Linked DNA regions of Homo sapiens: region 1 is linked to region 2. Evidence: promoter capture Hi-C in human tissues and cell types (Jung and others, 2019). All regions are on one chromosome and are shown on one strand. Each heading gives the region's core, a stretch centred on a gene start or on the middle of the fragment in contact. The rest is flanking DNA. Distances are from core to core; before and after follow the strand shown.

Region 1 (5,078 bases), core at 2,195-4,694, 250 kb after region 2:
TACTGACTCATCATCAGTAGTGGCAGCAGCAGCAGAAGTCACTTAAGCTTCTTGTGATCATGGCACCGTGATGGGCATCTTGCATGCTCCTGTCTGCTGACAATGGCACATATCTGCAGTGACGTGGGCCGCTTTGGAAAGTGAGTAGCTTGGGTTAGGTGTCTTCAGAGATGGGGTTGGATGACAGTTTGCAAAGGCTGTGGTAGAGGTACGCTGGGTGAAACAGCTTCCTTCAGATTCTGACTATGGTACAGCCAGTGGGAAACACTGGAATCATTCAACTTTTCTTCCAACAAACATTTCTTGAACACTAATTGCGAGCTTGGCACTGTGCTAGGCCCAGAAGATCCCCAGGTAAATATCACCAGTTCCTGCCCTTCCGAAGCTCACAGCTGAGAAAAGGGAGACACTCCAAAAAGCCATCCCCGGATGCTGTGCAGAGGAGTCACGTCGTGTTCAGACTCAGTCCAAAGTCAGCACAGAAAAGGAGATGACAAACAGCCCAGAAAACTCCTCCCTCAAAAATCCCATAAATCGATTCTAAATAGCTTCCTTTGTTTTTAGCTAGAACCTCCTTTTAAAAAGTTTTTTATAAAAATGATGTATAAGGTTGATTTTTTAGAGGATGGGGAATAAAGAGATCTCTTTCTCTTTCTTTTCTTTTCTGTTTACTGAGCATGCCCAGTTAAATTAATGCAACTTAAGCATGCATATGATGCAGCCCCTTGGCTGTCCCTAAAGATTGAAATTTACTTGAAGACAAAGTGCTTTGGAAGTGTAGAGGAGAAGTGGTCTAACTCTGCCTGAGGAAATTTTGGAAGGCAGGGGAGGTATTATTTGCACTGGTGGAAGTTTAAGAGCTTCCTAAACATGGGGAACAGCATGAACGAAGGCTTGTTGCTCTGGAAGAACATGGCTGGTTCAGAGAATAAACTGGAGTTTACGTTTGGGGCAGTGATGGGGGCAGTGATGATGGCATTGGAGACCATGCAGGGACCAAAAGCACACCCTATGATGGGCACAGCTGGAGGAAAGGGTGGTCAGGAACACTGTGTCCACTCCCTGCCAGCCCCACCCTCCAGCCTCTCTCCTCTTCCTTTGCCACTTCCCTCCACTGCCAACTACTTCCCGAAATGGCCAGATCTATCATTCTCCAACGCAATTGTGTTGTGTGGGCTCTGACTCGCTGAGTGTTGTTTTCTAGCTGAAGACACGTATGTGTTTCTGTTTCCTGAGCGTCTTTTATCTAAGGATCACCCAGTAATCTGGAGACGTCAAATTACTATTAATCTCTAGGTTGGTTCTAAATGTAGGTGGGTCTTATGTTTCTGTTTAATAGTTACACTGTGGCACAGCTGCCCCCAGGGAACCCTTGAACCAGGATGGGGACTTGAATGATATTCCATTTTCTCCTTTGTCATTTAGACCATGAAATACACATCTTCAAGGACCATGGAAATATTGCCTCCACTTCCCTAGAAAGAAAGAGAAAGTGACTTCCATATTGAGACACCTCTGGAAAAAATTAAGGAAATGACAGTGGAATTTCTGAGCAAGAATTTATTTAAGATAACTTACGTGTCCTACCTAAAGCCTGGAGAGATTTTTTTTATCAATTAGAATCAGATCAGGTCACATATAACAAAGAAACCAAAATAATAGTGTTATAGACAAAGTAGAAATTTATTTTCTTTTTAAATAAAAGAGGTCTAGAGATAAGCAGTCCAGGGCTGATATGATCATACAAACTGTCAGGGATTCAGATTTCAGTCTTAACACCCTTACCCTCTGCATGTGGCTTCTACCTAATAGTCTGAGGTGGCTGCTCAAACTCCAGCCATCACATCCACATTCTAAGCAGGAGAAAGAAGGAACAATGAAGGAGGGGAAAAATGGCATCTGACAACTGACTTATAAAGAGATTTCCCGGAAGCACCACATGTTGCTTCTGCTTATAGCACATTGGCCAGAGCTTAGTGGAGGCTGGGAAATATTGTGATTTCTCCAGCTGCCATGATGAGAATAGAGAGAAACTGCAGTAGGCAACTAGCAGCCTCTGCCACAAATCCCACTATCAAGAGTACAGCACTGTACCTGTGATCAGCGAACTGACATACCCTTGCTTATCCCCCATCCCTGGTGGCAATGAGGCCCAGGGGCCTCAGAGAATCATGTCATGGTGGCAGGGGCTCCTCTAGAGTCCTTAAGCCCCATACTCCATACTCATAGGCATGATCTCTGTGATCTGATTCTTACTGGCTCTAATCTAAACACTGGAGAAAGGAGAGGCTGTCCCAATTTGTGATCACAGTAGCCCTCCATGAGCACATAACATGGAGATATCCTACCTCTTAGGGTTCCATCCACATGACATTCACTCATTCCAGGCAGAGCTAGAAATATCAGGGCTCTTATGGAATTACTTTCTCAGATTCCTTAATTTTTTCCCAGAGCCTCTGGTGTTTGGATGTTACATAAGAGGTACCTGGCATCTTTTTTTAGGCAATAGTGAGCATGGGCTTCCTGTGTAACCTGAACTGTACATATATGAGTAAAAACAGCAGGAAAAGAAGAGGAGGAAGTAGTGGTTCATGTAGAGAAGTAATGGCAGGCAGGGAGGAGGAGGAGGAGGAAGGAAGTGGGTGGGCCAGACCAGCCCTGCACAAATATGTGAATGAATCCAGTTTCCTTTCAGGGTCTTTCCCTATCTTTGGGCACAATCCCCTCCACTTACTCTCCTGTCTGCACAGCCCTGCACTCATCACCCTCAGCGCCCTCCTTAGTACTGCCATGACCAAGCTTCCCCTCCCTCTTCAGAACCTAAAGCAACATCTACTGCACTGTCTTGAGGGATTCACAGAAGCAGTAACACTTCAATAATGGCAAGTAAATGGCAGGCTCTCAAAATATGCTATATTTACCCGCTCTTTCCAACAAGTTTGATAAGCTCATTCACTTCCATAATGAGCAAGATAAGAATGTACTTCTTCTACAAGCCATATTTACATTGTAAGAGAGATTTCTAAGCCTAAACCCAAAGATATATCAATCACCTTCAGTAGAATTAGCAAAGGGAAAAGAATTGGGTAGGAGGCGCCTCTCTAGGGCTGGGGCTGGGGTTCCAGGGCCCTAGCAGGAAGGAGGGAGAAGTGACACAGGGCTCATGTCCACCATGAAACTGGCGTGTGCCTAGCACGGTGTCAGCTTCACACTAAGTGAATAATCCATAATGAATAAATACATGACAGGGGATTTAATGAGTGGACACTTTACAAAGCTGTGGGTTAAGTCTGAGAACCAGGAAGGGATGGTGCAGTATGCAGGGATTAACAACGGGGAAATCCTTACATCTCTCAGCCTGAACGGGCACAGGGAAGGAGTGGCTACCAGATCTGCACTGTGGCTGTTGGAGAGGGGACATCGGATAGGAGCTATGGCATTTAGTAGAAGAACACAACCACTGCTTAAAGCACAGCCTGGCAGGAGGGAATAAATACCTGGACTCTCTTATCATCCTCCAATCTTTCATCTGCACCTCCCATTGGTCACACCCACCAGCAGCCACAGGTGCAAGGGACCCAAGGTGGGTTGGTGGGGAACGGAAGAGTTCATCCTCCCAAGGGCAGGATGGAGAAGGTGGAAAGTGGACCTGGAGGGACAAATAGGAAATCTAGTACATTAGTCTTTAGGTTTATATTGTAGTTTGAGAGACAGACTGATACATAATTCTAACAAAAGACAGTGAGATAAGACAGTAATAAGATCAGACAAGGTGACTTCACTGGGGTAGAGGATCCCCCTTGGGAGTGGAGAGAGATAAAGTGGGATGGATATCAGGACCACTCAGCAGAACATTTTTAAGGGACTTAGGGCTGAAAAAACAAAACAGCACAGAATGTCCATCAAGGTCATTAATAGAATGTATTATTGACTCATTTTATAAGAAAAACTTTTCAAAGGCTACTGGCAGGCCCTGAGTATGGTCTGAGGTCTCCAAATCCTCATATCAGATGTAAATATCCATCAAGGTCATTAATAGAATGTATTATTGACTCATTCTATAGAAAAACTTTTCAAAGGCTACTGGCAGGCCCTGAGTATGGTCTGAGGTCTCCAAATCCTCATATCAGATGTAACTATCCATCAAGGTAATCCTCCCCAGGGAAGGGAAGTCCCTTCCTTCCCTACCTCCCTCCCTCCTTTCCTCTCTCCCTGTGTCTTTCCTCCCTTCCTCCTTCCTTTCCTGCCCTTTCTCCCTCCCTCCCTCCCTCCCTTCCTTTCCTTTTTCCTCCCTCCCCTCCCTCCTCATGGGAGGCAGTGTGCCTGCCCTTGGCTCTTGGTTGGTGTCTGCCCTCACATGTCTTCATCACAGGACAGATTTTCTTTCTGTCCCATAGACCAGCCTTTCCAGACCCTTTTTGAGGGACAGCAACGCTTCCTTGTTGCTGGCGGGCAACCATTCTTGTTTAGGGAGATGTGAAGGTTTTTCAAAAGAAACAAGCCATGTGGACAAAGGAGTGGAAGGAAAGGTTAGGATTCTGGAGATACTGGGCTAGAATACAAAGGCTACAGGTCCATAGGGAAGAGGAATCTGGGGAAGACTTAGTCAAATGTTCTAGGGGAAAATATTGAAATGTCAGCGGGTATCTCTTTCCTTCTTCCCTTCCATGAGGAACAGGCACAAATATGAAGGAGAACTGACCTCAGAAGTTGGAGGCAGAGCTTTCTCTCAGCTCACTTGACCCAGAACTGACCCTTTTAAAGCTTTATACCAGGAATTCAGCAGTATATGAGATCCATTCACATAGTCCTAGAACCATTAAGCAATGCAGACAGACTCTTGGAACGTGGTATGGATTTCTGGCAGTTCCCCTTGTGACATGCGCCCCTCAGCCTGTCTATTGGGACCTGCTTGTTTATCTTTCTCTCACTCTGCCAGTAGTCATTGACCTGGTTTCATCATTGCTTTGGAGAGCTATTCAGTATGTTCCTCCTCTGTCCCTAAAAGCCACTGCTCCTTAATAACTCAGTGTGTGGCCAGCCTATTCTGAATTCTCTCTGAGGCATCCCTCTAGATT
Region 2 (4,557 bases), core at 394-2,893:
ACAAAAAAATTAGCCAGGTGTGGTAATGCACACATGTGGTCCTGGGTGCTTGGGAGGCTGAGGTGGAAGGATAGCTTGAGCCTGGGTGATTGAGGCTGCAGTGAGCCGATTGTGCCATTGTACTCCAGCCTGGGTGACGGCGAGACCTTGTCTAAAAAAGAAAAAACACACAAAAAATAAAAAACAAATGTGGCTTATGTTTGTGGCTTGAATTATAGTTCTATTGTACAATGGTAGTCTAGTTCAACTTCTTGAACAGACGAGAACGCTGGGGTCCGGAGAGAAGCCCTGACTTAGCGGATGGCACACACTATAAAGCACTGTCATTTGCAGTCCCACCAGTCTCTCAGTACCCACCCCCACTCTGCCACACACACCCCTGGGAGTCTTAGGTGTGAAATGGGTGGACTCACAGACCCCTGGGCTGCATACCTCAAAGTGTTCCAACACTCAAGGCACTGCCTGTGGTTTTTTGGGAGTGAAATAAAAACCTAACAATGGTGGGGTCACAGTCTCCAGTAGGTCACATTTTAAAAGCACTTTAGGCTCTGGAGACTTGGGGTGTGGGGAGAAGTGAAGAGAAAGCTGGGGAGCCCTGGGCCTTCCCCCATTTCTTCATATGCAGAATAATCCAGATTAGTTTACCAAGCGCGCTGATAACCACTTTAAAAACAGAGTCCCTCCTGCCTCCCCGTGGCATGGGGTAGAACCTGGCTTGAGCCCCGACACAGGCGGGCAGCCACTCCAGGATCGTTCCACACGTAAACAAAGACGAGTTTCGGTCCGATTGGCTTGATCCTGGAAGAGGAGTGGGCAGTGGAGGGAGGGGAAACCAGGCACCAAAGCAAATTCCTTCATTTCATAATTTCATCTGGCGCCCCCGTTCAATCAGCCTGCATTGTCGAGGCTTTAGGAGAGGCAGTTAGGAAAGGAGAGATACTGATCTCTCAGCCCCAGGGCAGCACTAATGGTGCCTGTCTAGACTCTGACAGGTGGAGCTGCTGAGCTAACTACGGACCTGGTGGGGGAAGTTTTCCTTGGCTTTCACGTGGCTTTGGCTGGGGAGCCCTGAGAAGGTGGCTGCCTCCTTTTTCTGAAGCCTGGCTTCCCATACGGCAGTGGCTGGGGGAGAGTGATGGAGAGAAAGGCTAAGCTAAGGTCAAAGAAAGTGGAGGAAGGCTGGCTTGTCCCGCTGGACTTGACGGCGGAGCTGCTGCAATCTCGCGGGCTGGGCCCTTGCCCCGGGTGGACCCGAGTGCCTGCGGGGAGGCGGGTGTGGCTCCCCCGGGAGGTGACAGCTGGCGGGGCCCGTAAGGAGCTGGTCTGCTCCGGCTCCCCTCTCGTAGCCGGCGCCCTGGGACCAGCGCGTGAGCACGTCTCGGAGGAGTCCGATGCGCTGGGCAGGGCCGGGTGGTCACCCCCGCCCAGCTTCCAGGGGTGACTGTGCCTCTGACGTCAGACGGTTTTTGGGTCATTCCCTGGCACGGGGACTTTATTTTCATAACAGCATGAAGTGCCGTGGAACTGGAATAGGCGTGTCCTCTCCCTCGACCCTCCCCCTCCTTGTCCCTCTGCTCACCCCTCGCTCGTTCCCTCCCTCCGGCGAGGGCCGCCTTTATAACAACTGCTCAGAGTGCGAGGGCGGGATAGCTGTCCAAGGTCTCCCCCAGCACTGAGGAGCTCGCCTGCTGCCCTCTTGCGCGCGGGAAGCAGCACCAAGTTCACGGCCAACGCCTTGGCACTAGGGTAAGTGAGGCGCCAGGAGCCCAGAGCGCTGGGGCCTCCGGATTTAAATCGTCTGGGGAGAGCGGGGCGTTGGGAGGGGTGGGATAGAAGAGGAGAGAAATCCTGGTAATGGAATACAGTTGGCTATGAGAAAAAAATTCCCTAGGAAACAGTTCCTCTAGTTTAACAACTCAGATTTTTTTTTTTTTTTTTCCCCTTTGCGGGTTTCCTAGGCTAAGATAGAGGCAGAGAGCAAAGAGATAATCAGGGTAATAGTTTCTGCTCGGACACATTCTACAAACTTTGAGTAGATGGAATCCGGCCAGGCAGGAGGTGAGCAGCTCTGGGATCACTCTGCAGGAAAAGAATAGAGGGAGAAAGATCTCAGAGGACCCGAAGGTACTGGGAGTGGAGGGGGAGTGGGAAACAAGGGGCAGGGGCAGGAGGGAGGACACGGTGACAGCTACTATTTTACCCAGATGCTGCAAAAAGCCCTTCTGAGTTTTGGGAATTAGATCTAGAAGCCCATCCCTTTTCTCTTGATGTGTGGGCGGTCAGTTCCACTCTGGTGTGCCTTGAGTTGCTCAGAAACCTGGGACAGATGAAAGTTGAATGTGCGCTGAGAGTGCACCTTCCACTACCGACTTTATGGATAGGATTTGGGAATAGCATAGATGCTGTTCCATCTGGTCCCTTAAACATCCATGGGGAAGGCTGGCAAATAGCTTTATTTTATTTTTTGAGATGGAGTTTCACTCTTGTTGCCCAGGCTGGAGTACAATGTTGCGATCTCAGCTCACCGCGACCTCCACCTCCCGGGTTCAAGCGATTCTCCTGCCTCAGACTCCCGAGTAGCTGGGATTACAGGCATGCACCACCACTCCTGGTTAATTTTGTATTTTTAGTAGAGACGGGGTTTCCCCATGTTGGTCAGGTTGGTCTCAAACTCCCGACCTAAGGTGATCTGCCCGCCTCAGCCTCCCAAAGTGCTGGGATTACAGGTGTGAGCCCCCGCGCCCGGCCACAGATAGCTTTAAACATCCATGGGAAAGGCTAGCTAACAGCTGAAACCTGCTCAGAATCAAGGAATTTGAAGGACTTTCCATTCCTGACTTCTTTCCATTCCTGATTGTCTCCTCAGAGGCTTGTGTAAACACCACACCTGTTGAAGGGTTCGGCCGAATCAGCCACTGCTGTGGGTTCATTCCTGAAGGGGAACACTTCAGCTACTTCAGACACAATGGGCTAGGGACCACGGGAGGGGTGAGGGCGGAGGGGGCACACACCCTCCAGGTTTGCATGCCGGTGTCTGCTAGGTGAGGGAAGGAATGAGGGGAAGGAAGGGCCGGGAGAGGCGCTACGTGGGAAACAAGGGACCTCTCCAAGGGCGTGGAGAGGTGAGTGCCTCAAGGGCAGAATGGAATGAGCAGAACCCTTTGGTTTCCCGGGAAGAGCTCTCAACCTTGAGTCAGGAAGACTGATTTCTCCTCCCAGCTCCGCAGGAACATGGAACTGTGATCAGGCAAGGGGCTGGGCCTGAGTTCCTCATAGGGGTCTTGGGGAGGCCCCCAGTTTCCCCTCCTGTGTTTCGATTCTGGCCCCTCTCCATCTGCACACGTCGCCTTGGAAGTTCCCTTTAGAACTGGCTTTTTTGTATTCTAGTCTTGAATGGTAATCGAAGACAACAGGGTATGAAGAACAATTTTGACGGCGTGATTTTATTCTTCTCATTCTGGGTCCACTACTATTTAAAGTCCCAAGATTAAGCTGAGGAATTAATATGGTGGTATAGTAAACAATAAATTGAGGAGTATTTTTGCTTGAGGAATCTTTGACTTCCTGAGTAGTTCAGGGTGTTTGCTTCTTTTATTCTCATTTTTATTGCACTGTGGTCAGACTATATGGTCTGCACATTTCTTATTTTCTAATTCCAGATTTGTCTTTGTATTCTAAATATGCTCATTTTTGGCAAATGTTCCATTTGGACCATGGACCATAGTTCCTATTAAGCAATCATAATAGAGTAGAGATGGCAAACTATGGTCCATGGACCAAATATGGCCTATAGCCTCTTTCTGTAAATAAAGTGATTTTTGTTTTGTTTTGTTTTGTTTTTGTTTTCGTTTTTTTGAGATGGAGTCTCGCTCTTGCCCAGGCTGGAGCGCAGTGACGTGATCTCGGCTCACTGAAACCTCTGCCTCCCGGTTTCAAGGTTTCAAGCCATTCTCCTGCCTCAGGCTCCCAAGTAGCTGGGATTACAGGCGCCCGCTACCACGCCTGGGTAATTTTTGTATTTTTAGTAGAGACAGGGTTTCACCATGTTGGCCAGACTGGTCTCAAACTCCTGACCTCAGGTGATCTGCCTGCCTCGGCCTCCCAAAGTGCTGGGATCATAGGCATGAGCCACAACCTGTAATCCACTATTTTACTAAAACACAGCAATGCTCATATGTTTATGTATCATCTATGCTGCTTTCATGCTACAAATGTGTGGCTTGCAGAGTCTTAAATTGCTTATAACCTGGCCCTTTATAGAAAATCTATGCTGATCACTGATATAGAGGATCTGAATTATATGATTAGTAATGGAGATCTAATAAGATATGAAGATAGAGAATATTTCTATTTAAGTATCCATAGAACATTTACACAATTTTACCATGTTCTTATTCATATTGTATATTTTATCTGCCAAGGACTGGTAAAGAAGTATGAAAGTCTCATGCAACTATAGTATTGCCTTTGGGTTCTCCTTGTATTTTCAGCAGTTATTTATTTATTTTGAGACAGGGTCTTGCTCTGTTGCCCTGGCTGGAGTGCAGTGGCACAATC

The links. Contacts are between HindIII fragments. The study calls those that stand out against the background at their distance.
Region 1: a fragment that was not itself captured here is called in contact with the fragment with the promoter of GPRC5A in region 2 in 1 of the 25 tissues and cell types used here (pancreas).

The regions. Positions count from the first base shown.
Region 1 is chr12:13,141,867-13,146,944 of GRCh38, forward strand. No RefSeq gene overlaps it. Among named protein-coding and RNA genes, the nearest start is that of GSG1, 41 kb to the left of the region's middle. The HindIII fragment of the contact is 4,042 bases long and covers 1,424-5,078 here.
Region 2 is chr12:12,889,919-12,894,475 of GRCh38, forward strand. GPRC5A (G protein-coupled receptor class C group 5 member A) reads left to right here and starts at 1,644. Exons shown (of 4, transcript NM_003979.4): 1 at 1,644-1,746. The HindIII fragment of the contact is 16,829 bases long and covers 1-4,557 here.